2 separate regions of the Homo sapiens genome follow, and region 2 is linked to region 1. The links are contacts of gene promoters, found by promoter capture Hi-C in human tissues and cell types (Jung and others, 2019). All regions are on one chromosome and are shown on one strand. Each heading gives the region's core, a stretch centred on a gene start or on the middle of the fragment in contact. The rest is flanking DNA. Distances are from core to core; before and after follow the strand shown.

Region 1 (6,429 bases), core at 1,143-3,642:
GAGAGACCTTAACAGCCCCACACCTCTACTGGGTGGAGCTTCAGGACAGCCATGTCTTCTGACTTCTAGTCTGGTCCGCACTTTTTTTTTTTTTTTTTTTTTTTTTTTGAGACAGTCTCGCTCATGTTGCCCAGGATATAGTGCAGCAGCGTGATCTCGGCTCACCGCAACCTCCGCCTCCTGGGTTCAAGTGATTCTCCTGCCTCAGCCTCCTGAGCAGCTGGGATTATAGGCACCCGCCATTACACCTGGCTAATTTTTGTATTTTTAGTAGAGACGGGGTCTCACCATGTTGGCCAGGCTGGTCTCGAACTCCTGACCTCAAGTGATCTGCCCTCCTCGGCCTCCCAAAGTGCTGGGATTACAGGCCAGCTTGGTCCGCACTTTTCTCATTGGTTGCCTTTTATGTCAGCATGGCTGTCAGCTAAATGGGAGAATGAATATAACTGATACCATTTATATATGAAGGTCAGCAGTGGAGGGGAAGGAAGTTAAAGGGAATAAACAGCAGGTATGAAATCATCTCACCACCTTTAATAACTGGTGTAGTACCCATTTTCTTCTCTTCTTCTTCTCCCTTTTCGAGGATGGTGTTGAAAGTGTTGAAAGTGGAGCAGTCAGGGTACTTCCTTCTCAAATCATCACACTTCTTTCTTCTTTACCACACTTCCTAGCCATAATCTTCACCATTTAAGAGGAGGGGACTCTTCAAACCCTTTCCATATCGAAATCTTAGAATGCAATTGTGAAACTGCACTTGACTTCCCAGATATTTGAGGAAGCTTCCTGGTTCTTGCTTTATAATCATGATCTACCACCCTTACCATCCTTCCCTGAAATTTCCCTATCTAAAACAACGACAACAAAACCTGTTACAGATATTTTTGTAAGTAGCCTTAAATTCTTTTAAAAGTATTATTATTTTTTTTATAGAGACAAGGTCTATGTTGCCCAGGCTGGTCTCAAACTCCTAAGCTCAAGCAATCCTCCCACCTCAGCCTCCCGAAGTGCTAGGATGGTAGGCTGAGCCACCGTGCCCAGCCTTAAATTCTCTTTTAAGACAAGGCAAAAGTATGTGTTAATCAAGTTAGAATTCAGGTGACCATTTGTCTCAGTTTGCCTAGGACAGTCCCAGTTTATGCCTATTCCCTTGTGTAACTTTTAAAAGAGCTCCTCCTTTTACTCTTAAAAAAAAAAAGGTCCAGTTTGGAGGATAAATTATATGCTGACCCTAGTTTAAAACACACTTTGATTTTCTAACATAGTGTTTTCCAGGTGATATTATGCTTTTGCCCACATCATTGCATTTTATTTACATAACTACTCTGCGAAGCAGGAAGGGAAATACTTGATCGCTATTAAATAAAGGAGGTAATCAAGGCTTCGAGGGGTACAGTGGTGACTGAGGTCACACACTCAGGGCCAGAACCTAGGATTCCTGACTTCAAGTCTAAAACTGTTTCAGCTGTGGATCACTATGTGCAAATGTCTGAGTAAAGGCAAACTTCACTCTCCTTTGGTGATCTGCTTGGCACTGGACTTAGAAGTTTAGATACGTTCATCCTTGCACAGAGACTGTTCTTCCACATATAAAGCAAGCAAAGAGATGGAAGAAGAATTATTAGCTAAACAAAAAGAGGCTGTTAGTGAATCCTGGGCCAAAGAATATATTTTACCAGGTCTAATTACATCAGATTACTTGAATCTTACATCTGGCCAAATTAGGATATTTCCATTTAAGAAAAGAAAACCAAAGATCAATAATGCATGCCTACTCTTGCAAAGAATGCAAAGAACATATAAATGGGTTCTGGTCAGTCTTATAGATATATTTTCCTATAATTACACACTAATTCTTTCTTAAAAATATTTCCCAAAACAGCAAAATTCTACCCTCCTTGGTAAGCAGCAAAGGGACAACACGGGAAACAAAACAAAACAAAACAAAACAAAACAAAACATAAAAACCCTAGACCATTTAAAGACAAGCATGGTGCTTTGTAAAATCTTCGGGGTATCACAGAGGTGCTGAATGCGTGGTTACATCAATGAAAAAACGCCCACTCTTTGAGCCTCCTGAAAAGGAGGCCACAGGACCCCCGGGCGCCAGGGCTTGGGAACCCAGCGCCCCTCCTTGTCTGTGCCATGACAGACAGGTTCAGTGTGACTTGCCAAGGATGGCTCCAAGCAGCTGGGCCATGTAGCCTGAACGCAGCAGAGGGTTGGACGCCTTAGAGCCAGCTGTGGGCACCACAGCCCGACCAGGGAGGCAGCGGGTCTCCCCAGGTTAAGAGGCCAGCGGAGGACGCGCGCGGTCTCCTTGGGGGAGGGTGCGGGTGGGCCGGGCGCGCATGCGCATGGGCGCCATCGCCCGCCGGAAGAGCGGCAGCCCAGGCGCTGCTGCTGGCGCCAGACGGCACCGGCCGCTGGTAGAGCGCGTGCCGCGAGATGCGGCCTCAGGACAGCACCGGGGTCGCGGAGCTCCAGGAGCCCGGGCTGCCGCTAACGGACGATGCACCCCCGGGCGCCACTGAGGAGCCGGCGGCCGCCGAGGCAGCTGGGGCGCCAGACCGCGGTAGGTGCTGGCTCTGCCTTTCCTCGCCGTGTTGCTCCCGCACCGAGCCGGGTGAGTGCGCGGTGTGGATCGGGCTCTGGTCTCGCTCGGGGGTCCCGAGCGGGCGCCGGCGGGTTGGGGTCCCCGCAACCCGGGCACAGTGCCCGCCGCGCCTCCGTCCCCACCCTGCCCGGGGCTCGGGAAACCCCTCGAGCTGTCAGCTGGGGGGCTGCAAAGCGGAATTCCCGGCGCCCCAGCCGGCGCTAAGACGGAAGAAACTTTCCGATTGTTAGCAGTCCTTTTGGGATTCCGAGGCTGCTCCTGTAATTAGTGTCGGGGCAGGGCTGTGGAGTCAGACTGCAGTTTGGCGTACCCTCCCCTAGGTCGTAGGTGGGGGGTCAGCGAGAGAGGCCATCCTGCAGTGGGGCGACGTTGCGAGGAAGCTGACCCTGAAAAGTGATCCCGGTGGTTAAGGGTTCTCTCCGAAAAGGAAGCTGAAAAGCATCGAGTCTAGAAAAAATGTTCGTCCTAGAGTTTTAGAATCTTGGAAAGGCAGAGATAAGTGGGACCGCTAGTTTTTAACCTTTAGGGATACAAGGACTTTTTAGCAAACGATGCAGAACAAGGCATATCTTGTTAAGAAGCTCACAGCCCCGTCCCCAAAGTCAGGGACCCCTCGTGAAGAACACTTTATGTTCAGTCCCCCTCCTTCGACACATGAGCAAAGTGAGGCCCAGGAAGGTGAGGGCTTTTGGGTTTTCGTTTGCTTTGTCTCCTCCAAGATGTGGAACGTGGGGGTGAGATGGGGCGCATGTCCAGGGAGCACCAGGGTTAGGATCCCAGCTTGCCATATACCGGCCTAGGGCCCTTTCCACTGGCCACAAGTGCTGCTTCAAGCACATTCCTCTTAGAAGTCGACCATCTACCAGGAGCAGCTTCCTGCAAGAAGAAGGGAATAGGCAGATCTCTTTTTAGGACAGTTACACGGCCTGCACCACCTTGTCCTCTGGGTCACCTCCCCTAAGTGTGACCCTGGATTTCTGTTCCTCTCCTCTCACTGCGCTTTCCCCTCCTCCCTTTGTGCACTTTCCCCAAGTTAGAGAGACAGACTCTAGGAAGACTATTCTTGCTCCATTTCTGTCCTAAAGGCAAACCGAAATGATCAGACTTGTGATCATTTATAAATGGGCTGGTGCCTCTAGAACAGGGGTTATGCCAGGCTGAATTGAACAGATAAGCAGCCTTTGAAAAGGTCAGTTTCTCACCTATCACCCTCTGGGTGAATGTCCTTCTGGTGGCATGCCGAATCAGTCCATGCAAACTCTTAAAGTTTCCCCTTTTTGTGAATGGAAGAGGAATTCTCTACTCCCAGGCAGCTCATGGCAAGATGAGAAACTTACGTGAGTGTATCTAAGAATCTTGTGGGTGTTTAACTTCAAAGAAAGTTTCTACCAGTAAGACTTAGTTATTGTAAGGTGACAAGATAATATTTTGGAAAGAAAATTGACATAAAAACACTTTACTGTTGTCATTGAACTTTGTGACACCTCTTGTTCTAACTGCTTATCTCAACAAAGCTTTTTTCAAGTTCTGGTTGGAACTGTTACCCATATGTCTTACATTCTTGGATGACCTTAACAGACACATACAGCTGTCCCAAGACATCTCCTTACTTTCTTCAGGGACAGTGTGGGTCTTACACTGAAGCAAGGAGAAGTAGTTTCTTAGGCCTGTGCCTCACATCCTCTGGAGGGAGTTAGTGATCGAGTGTAGCAGTGGTTCTCAAACTAGTGGAGCCTTTTAGAGTTACAGAGATTCTATTTCGGTGGGTCTGAGATGGGGCTTGAGAATTAATTTTTTTTTTTTTTGGAGATAGGGTCTTACTCTGTCACCAAGGCTGTGGTGCATTGGCGTGATCACAGCTCACGGCGACCTCAACCTCCTGGGCTTACTCGATCCTTTCATCTAAGTCTCCTGAGTAGCTGGGACCACAGGCACACACCACCACACCCGACTAATTTAAAAATATTTTTTGCATTGATGAGGGGGTTTCCCCGTGTTGCCCAGGGTGGTCTCAAACTTTTGAGCTCAAGAGATCCTCCCACCTTGTCCTCCCAAGGTGCTGGGATTACAGGCATGAGCCACTGCACCCAGGAATTAAAGTTTTAAGTGTTACTCAGGTGATTCTAATTCCCAACCAGGATTGCGAATCACCAGCTGAAAGCAGAGGATAGAGAAGCTGAGTAATTTTTCAGTTTTCTTCTAAGTGAGGAAATTACACCATGGCCACTTACCTAATTTGAATAATTTGAGTTACCAAATTATTAGATATGCTTGCAGTGAGATATGAACATGGAACCTAAACAAATGCCTCTTTCAGTTATGCTAGTCATGCTCATCTCCATTGACAGGATTGAAATGATTTAGTAAGAAACTGAGGTTTGTCTGAGTGGAGCCAGTCCTCACCCTCGTTAACAAATCATCAAATGCAGCGAGGCCTTCTAATGTCTGTCCCTTCCCAGTTGGAAAGCATGAGCCTTAAGTGTTTATAGGCAAGAAAATACATGTGTATGTGTTTTAAGGGGAAAGGTCACTAGGGCCAAGGGGGTGCAATTACATTTTTAAAGAGTTAAAATATTTAATGTTAAGTTAAAATATTCCTGGGGAAAAATTAGCAAGTTTATGTTGGAGAAGATACTTGAAACAGAGCAGGGAGATGTTTTCTGTCCTTGATCTTCTCGGTCTGTTCTGTTTGAGGGTGGAGTTTCTATGTAGGGGTTGAGTTTCTTTTAAGAAAAACTGTTTTATTTGGAACTGAATTCTGAAATTTCAGAGGCCAGACCCTAAGGCTGACCACAGCCAAGGCATGTATTTTGTGGTGCTTCACTTGGAAGTCTTCTAAAGCTTCCTTCTCGTGGGCTGCGTGTGTGCAGTTTATTTCTGCAGTATACAAGCACATGGATACAGAACAGAATGAGGATTCTGGCATCTTAAGGGAAGGACTACTGCTAGTTCCAAAGCAGTATCTTCAGCTGTGCACCTAGAACAGGAAGAGGTAGAGAAGGGTGCCTTTGACCACAAGGCCAGGCTGTAGAATGCCCCAGAAAGCCTGTGCATCAGCATACTTTGGTCCCAGTTTGCAAAGTCATCTCACTAACCTGAGGATGTGTAAATGTGTTACCTGGTGTTTACATTTATCAGAGAAGGGCATTTTAAAAAACATTACACAATACTGTTTTATAGCTATCACATTATAAAGTCCTAGATTGGAATGATAATACGAGTTTTCCTACAAGTTGCTCATATCCACTCACCCTTCAGTTCCACTGTGCTCTTAATCAATGAGGGCCACTTGTGTTTCCTTCTTACCCTCAACCCTGTTTTTGTGTTAATTTCAAAAAAGAATATATCCCGCAGTGTGTGACCTTTGTTTTAGGGCATTCTCTGCCCACCCTGCTGCTTTTGCTCTCTGAATGACAGAGGAGTAAGACTGAAAGCAGGTTCTACTCCTGTGTAGGAAACTAAGACATAGTAAGTGGCTAAACAAGTTTAAAGCTCACACAGATTGTCATTAATGACTGAATACTTGATGCCCTGGAGAAAGCACTGGTTTCCTCGTTCAGATCGAGCCAAGAGTAGGGATTAGATGGCAGTTCTGTACAAAGCACTTGGGATCCAAAGGGCTAGATAACCCACACCCTCCCCTTGAGGAGTTTGTGCTCTGAATGGGAAGATAAGTCGTGAAAGCATGAAAAGTTAAATATAGATTTGATTAACAGTTCAAAATAACAAAATGGAGAACCTTCCCAGATTATGCTGTTGCCGATAGTGTTAGACTCTTGAGTCTTTCCCTGAAGTTCTCTCATCTTTCATTC
Region 2 (6,429 bases), core at 1,876-4,375, 64 kb after region 1:
GAGCAGTTAAGGGATATGCAGAGTACAAAACGAGTAGGTGGCAGAGGTTAAACTTGAGTCCAGATCTTCTGAATCAACATCCAATGCTCTTTACCCTTTATCAGAGGTTGTATTTTATAATTTTAATTAGAAAAATATGAAGCACCACTATTAGGGCAGTGAAACTAATATTCATCCATACTGCATAATCTTGTGCCAAAAACAATTCCTAAAGAGAATTTCCAAAACATTTTAAGCAATGGCATCCTCATTAGCATGAGTGTGTGGTCTTCTAAAAAATAAATGAATGGTGTTCCTATATTTCCAGATACGTGGTTGGACTTTAAAGTCTCATTATTTCAATGTCACAACTGGTAAGACTTTAAAATGCTTACTGTATTAGCTTCTATAAAAAAATCATTATGCAGGAAAAAATATTGAAGGAATAAGTGATTTAATAGCTGCAAAAGGGAAAATTGCAAAGAATACCTAATGAATGTTAACATAACATAAAACCAGGCTTGTGGGCTACTTTATTTTTATCTAGGAAAAGAAAAAATGTTAGCATAATACTGATACCTACATGTCTACAGAAGAACTTCATCATACTTGGAGGTTATATGCTAGAATTTCCTCTCATAAATAGAGAAATATGAGAGAGATGTTGTCTAATTCACTTTTCCCCACAGTTGTTGGCTTTGGGTCATTCATTCTGTTATACGTTTCTTGTAGGTGCAGTGACTACATGTATGAAATAAGCCTGCATGAGTGTTATATCAAGATAAAAGGGTCATATATGTGCCATAATTGGTCATCGAATGGCTTGACACTGATGTGTTAGAACAGTTCAACACCAATTGTTAAATATTAGGAAATTTTGTGAGCCAATCATGGAGCATTTACCCAATGGAAGTCAGTAAATACGACACACCAGGGGTTCCCCTCACTCCCACCCAAGCCAGTTTACCAGCACCCTGCTGACTTGAGGTGGGAGGAACAGTGGAGGGAGGTTGCTATTTACCACCTTACAAATGTTGGAAACCACAAATTGAGATTTCTCTGTACCGGCAGAGAATACCAAAGATTATGCCAACGTCTCTGGTTACTTTGGATTTGATTTATAAATAGAATTTTACTAAAGCTGGGACAATAAGGCTGCATTTAAGGGCATTTCTATCTTGCCAAACAAACATTGGGAGCTACAAAAGAAATCCAAAGTGTTCGCAGTGGATCGTTTAATTTACCTTCTGCTTAAAATAATGTATGGTGGCCACTATATTTATATAGTTGGAAAAAAAAGGAAAGTTAAGACTATAGATATATACTTTCTCTTTAAGAAAGAGAAATCATTTTTGACATATATTTTTGGAAAAGCAGGCACTAAACTGATGATCTCTTAGGAGAGTGGAGATGGGATTAATGGGAATGTTTATTCTCTTAATGTCCAAATTTTCTTTGTTGCTTTTTTTTAAAAAGTGGTGTTTAATTTTCTTTTTTCTTTTCTTTCTTTCTTTCTTTCTTTCTTTCTTTCTTTCTTTCTTTCTTTCTTTCTTTCTTTCTTTCTTTCTTTTTTTTGAGACACGGTCTTGGCAAGATCACAGTTCACCACAGCCTCCATCTGCCAGGCTCAAGTGATCCTCCCACCTCAGCCTCCCAAGTAGCTGGGACTACAGGCTCATGCCACGATGTCCAACTATTTTTTTTTACTTTTGGTAGAGATAAGGTCTCACCATGTTGCCCAGGTTGGTTTCAAACTCCTGAGCTCAAGCGATCCTCCAGCCTCAGTCTCCCTAAGTGCTGAGATTACAGGCATGAGCCACTGCACCAGCCAGCATTTAAGATTCTTATAACTAAATAGTACTTTTAAAAGAAAGAAAAGGACCAAATAATATCAGATAAATGTGGTCATACTGACCACTTGGTAATGGCCTGTTCAAGGCTGAAAACTTCTCCAATCGATCATTTCCATTCTTATTCGTCTAGTCTCAACCTATTTTCATTTCTTAATTGACTTGATTTTTCTTCAAAGATTAAATGCATTTGTTTCTTGTTGAACTCAGAATTTTCAGTTATTGTGCTTGTTTCAAAATGCTTTAAAATTAGTTCCTGCATTGTATTGAGAGACATATCAACTGAACTCTAAGGACTGGTGAGGTCTTGCAAGCCCACCACTGCTTTCATTTGTTTGCAAACCCCATGGGACTCCTATTTCCAAGTGCTGGCAGTAGACAGAGCTGGCAAAATTTTGTTCTGACAGACTACTTTATTCTTGTCAAGGAAAGTTTGTCAGTGGAAACTATGTCAGTAGAGGAGCTTCTGGAGAATTCCAGCATCAGGGGCACTGGGTTGTTATTTCTGGCTTGGCTGTAGAATGAACCCTGGGACTATAGGCAAGTCACTTAATCTTTTAAAGTCTCACCTGAAAATAAGAATAATACCATGATTCTGTGACTCAAAGATACACATTTTCCCTGCATTTTATTATTCCTGAAATGGAATGTGTCTAAATAAACTTGCCAGCTTCCAGGCCCAGTATGGATACCCCAGTATGAGATATAAGTAACATTTGTGAATGTAGGTGAACTTGGAGGGCTACATAGAAGGTATCTGCTTATTTGATATCACATGGGATGAGTGATTTGCATTGATAGCAGCACACATGTTTATTTGCATTTCATGTTAAATAAATCAAAATTTACATTTATTCTGATCAAAGCAAATCTTTGTCTCTGGAGGACTGAATAAATATTTTCCTATTAACAAGCAACAGCCTCTAATAACTGTTATTAAATTGTCATCCTCAACTGATGACATATTATAATCAAGGAAAAGGGAAAATAATACCAGCAGGCTAATGTTGAAGATTCAATAAGATTAAGCTCATAAAATGCTTAGCATAGTGCCTGGTGCATAGGACGCACTCAAGAAATATTGTCATCATTGTCATCATCATCATCACCACCATACTTTATAACATATTACTCAACAATTGCTTTCCATAGCCATATTTCATTCACAACCCCTGTGTAAGGAAGGCCGTAAAGTCTGATGCACCCAGAGACATTGGACAAGTCACTTAGTCTGAATAGTGGTTCTCAACTTTTGCTGAATTTCAGAATTACCTTGTGAGCTTTTGAAAAATATCAGTACCTGAGTCCCAGGCCAATTAAATTAGAATCTTTAGGGGTTGGGTCCAAGTATTTGAAATGTTATTAAAGCTTCCTGGTGATTTTAATGTGAATTATTTTATGTTAGTGGTTCTCAACCTTAGCTGCACATGAGAGATCACACAGCTCAGATGAAGCTCATCAGCATTTCAAGGGGTCAGATTTAGGCATCAGGATTTCTTTTCTTTTCTTTTCTTTTCTTTCTTTCTTTCTTTCTTTCTTTCTTTCTTTCTTTCTTTCTTTCTTTCTTTCTTTCTTTTTTTTTTGAAGCAAAGAAGGAAAAAATCTTGCCAAGCTTTATTTAGGCTATAATGATTACAGATAACACACATCTAACCCTATATTCCGTGCTTCCCATGCAGTCCCCTGAGCAGGCTCAGCTACCCTTTCCCTCCAGTCTCACTTCTTGTCTTCCTCCTTCTTGTCCTTCTTGCTGTCCTTGGTGGCCTGGGAGGCCAGGGAGCCCACAGCATTTCGAATGGCTTCATTGTTGGGATCCACACCTGGGAGGTTCTCTAGGACACTCTGAAGGAACTCAGGGTCTTGCATCACGTCGTAATCATCCTCCTCCTTGGCTGGCTCAGATGTGTCCATGGCTGAGCTGGCATCAATGTCTGCTGATTCTGCCAGGCCAAACTCTGCTCCCTGCAGGGACATCTGCATGGCACAAACAATCTTCTCTTCCTCAGTCATACTGCTTAGGTCAGGAAGCCCAGTGTGGCCAAACTCTTGCTGGCTGATGGTCATCTTCAGCAGGGCATCGTCTGAGTCTTCAGTCCCAGTCGTAGCAATCCCGGCCTCAGCAGCAGAAGCTGCAGCTGCCTGCCGGGCCTCCTCCTCCTGCCGCTGCCGCTGCTCTTCCATAAATACACGAAGGACCAAGGCCAGCTCAGGATCAGCACTGGGATCTACTCCAAATTCAAAGTCACTGGCACCAAGACCCATCATGGCACCACCTTCACCAGCCAAAATCGGAAAACTGATGAGAGCATCAGCCAAACTGGGCCCAGGAGGCACTGTCACCAGATGAGAACCGGTTCCATCTTTGCCATTCAACGTGTTTACAAAGGCTGTCAGCTTTTCTGTGTTCACCTCCTCTTCCCCAAAATTGATAATGTCAACATTTACTTTCTCCTTCTTGAGGCATTTAGCCAGTTTCACCAGATTCTTCTCATTGTCCTCCACCGGGTTTCCCACAAAGGCAATGATGCGGATCTTGTGATTGTTGCCTTGTCGGTGCTTCAGAGCCAGATGGGCCACGTGGATGCCCATGCAGAAGGTGATCTTGCCCTTGGGTTGGACAGTATGTAGCTTGGACAGGATACGGCCAGTGTCTGGGGTGAGTGTGGTCAGCACTTCACAGTCATTATCCAGTGTGATAAGGCCCACGTTGTTCTCAGGGTTGCTGCGGGTCTTTGAATGACAAACTGTGTTGACAGCATCCTGCTGGGCCTGCAGCCGGGTGGGTAAGAAGTCTCCATTCCCCATATACTCACTGTTGTCCACACTTGTAGTTAGCATTTGCAAAGTCTCTTCAACTAGAGGTGAGAAACTGGGGTCAGGAGTAGGTGAGCCCTCACTGATTTCCTCCAAAGGTGGAGTCTGAGGTAAAACATCAGGACAACCAAGGTGAACACCTGGCTCCACTTCCGCCTTTGTTGTCACTTGTGCCTTGTGTTCCCCAGAGACCAATGGCTGGTAAGTAATGCAGGAGTTGCCACTGGAGCCTGCTCGCTGAGAGAAAGATGAGCCAGACCGAAGTTTTTTGGAAGGAGAAGGCTTCAAGGGAATCTTCTTAAATACCGTGTTGCACATGAAGCGCTGGAACCATTCAGCATAGAAGCCTGGGCGATGCACTGAGACAGTGTCTCCGTCATGTATCAGGGCTTTCCAAGAGTGCTCCAACTTCTTAACAAACCTGTAAGACTGTAGAATGTCAATGATGCCAATATAAAGCAGAAGCCTTTCCCCTTTACTATTCCGGGCAGGGATGCCACCCATATGGTCATCGGTCTCCATGGTGCCACCCCGTCGAGCCTCTCCCTGGATGGATTCCATGGCTGTGGAATACAGAGCCTTTTGGGGGGCTGGTCTTCGAGTATCAACTGAGTATTGTGTTTCGCTGCTTAAGGGCTCTCGTTGTGCATGATCTATATTATGGATTGACATCAAGAGGCTATAATCCATTATCTTGAAGCTCTGCAGCACCAAACAGTCACGCTGCAGGGTCTTACAGAGAGCGTTGTGCACGTCAGCATCCAAAAAAAGACCATCAGGGATGTCTTGTAAGAAGTCTAGGTCTTTAAATGTGGGAAGAGGCTTCTCTCGCTCTTTCTGGGAAGCCCGCCGCCTGTAGGTTGAGCCTTTGAGGTCATATTTGATATGCATTTTTACCGATCTTGGTAAAAGATTGTTCATCACCACAATCCGAATGTTCTTGCCACCTGTCTGCACACAGTACAGTCCATAGAATTTAGGCAGCAAAGTCCGAGGGTTCTGGTTGAGGTTTATGTAGTATCCTGGAAGCAGCTTCTGCAGAAACTCCGCTTCTTTATGTCGGACTGTCTTAACAATGAACTCATCGTCGCTGGACACATAGAACAGGGAACCACTAGCTCCAGAGCTACAGAGTTCAATCAGCGGCTCACTGCAGAGGGAATACAAGTAATCATCGGGCCGGATACCAAATAGCTCCCAGAAGTAGCGGAAGGCAACAGGTGCATAGGTCTTGAAACGAAAGGCATTGTAGTGATGAGCAGGGGTCAGGTTGCTCCCTTCACTGGGAAAGAAGATACTCTCCACCATGTGGAAATCTTGCATGAGGACATCACTCTCTGGTTTGGTACTCAGGCTCCCCACAGTGTGGGTAATGCCTAACTGGATGGCACCTTTCAAGGCTGATGAGGTTGTCCCTCCTGAGGAATCAACACTTCTATGGCCTATTTTCTTGATGGGCATGCCAGAGGCATAAGGCACCTCAGATGCCATGGGACTCTTGATTCCAGATGCTGAGGACGAGGTACAGGAAGGGACCGCGGGATCAACGGAGAAAAACCGACCGAAGACAACGGCCCGGAGGAGGCCGACGCCATCTTGGCAGCCCCCTCCCCCTCAAGGGCCTGGCTCTCTTTCAATCCGGCTCTTCCTCTTCTCGGAATCGAATCTTCCCAATGTCTCTTTATAGAACCCACGTTCTGTGGGCCCCCTCCCCGCCCCCTCCAGGGCTCCCTCAGACAAGTCGAGCCGGCTGCTGGACCAGCTCAAGTCCACACCATTCGCCTGG

What was found. Contacts are between HindIII fragments. The study calls those that stand out against the background at their distance.
Region 2: a contact is called between a fragment that was not itself captured here and the fragment with the promoter of SLC35G1 in region 1, in 2 of the 25 tissues and cell types used here (mesenchymal stem cells and thymus).

The regions. Positions count from the first base shown.
Region 1 is chr10:93,891,586-93,898,014 of GRCh38, forward strand. It overlaps SLC35G1 (solute carrier family 35 member G1), which reads left to right and starts at 2,393. Exons shown (of 3, transcript NM_001134658.3): 1 at 2,393-2,626. The coding sequence starts at 2,449. RefSeq lists silencers at 2,367-2,796, 4,282-4,331. The HindIII fragment of the contact is 9,096 bases long and covers 1-4,794 here.
Region 2 is chr10:93,955,263-93,961,691 of GRCh38, forward strand. It overlaps the pseudogene PIPSL. Among named protein-coding and RNA genes, the nearest start is that of PLCE1, 35 kb to the right of the region's middle. The HindIII fragment of the contact is 3,706 bases long and covers 1,273-4,978 here.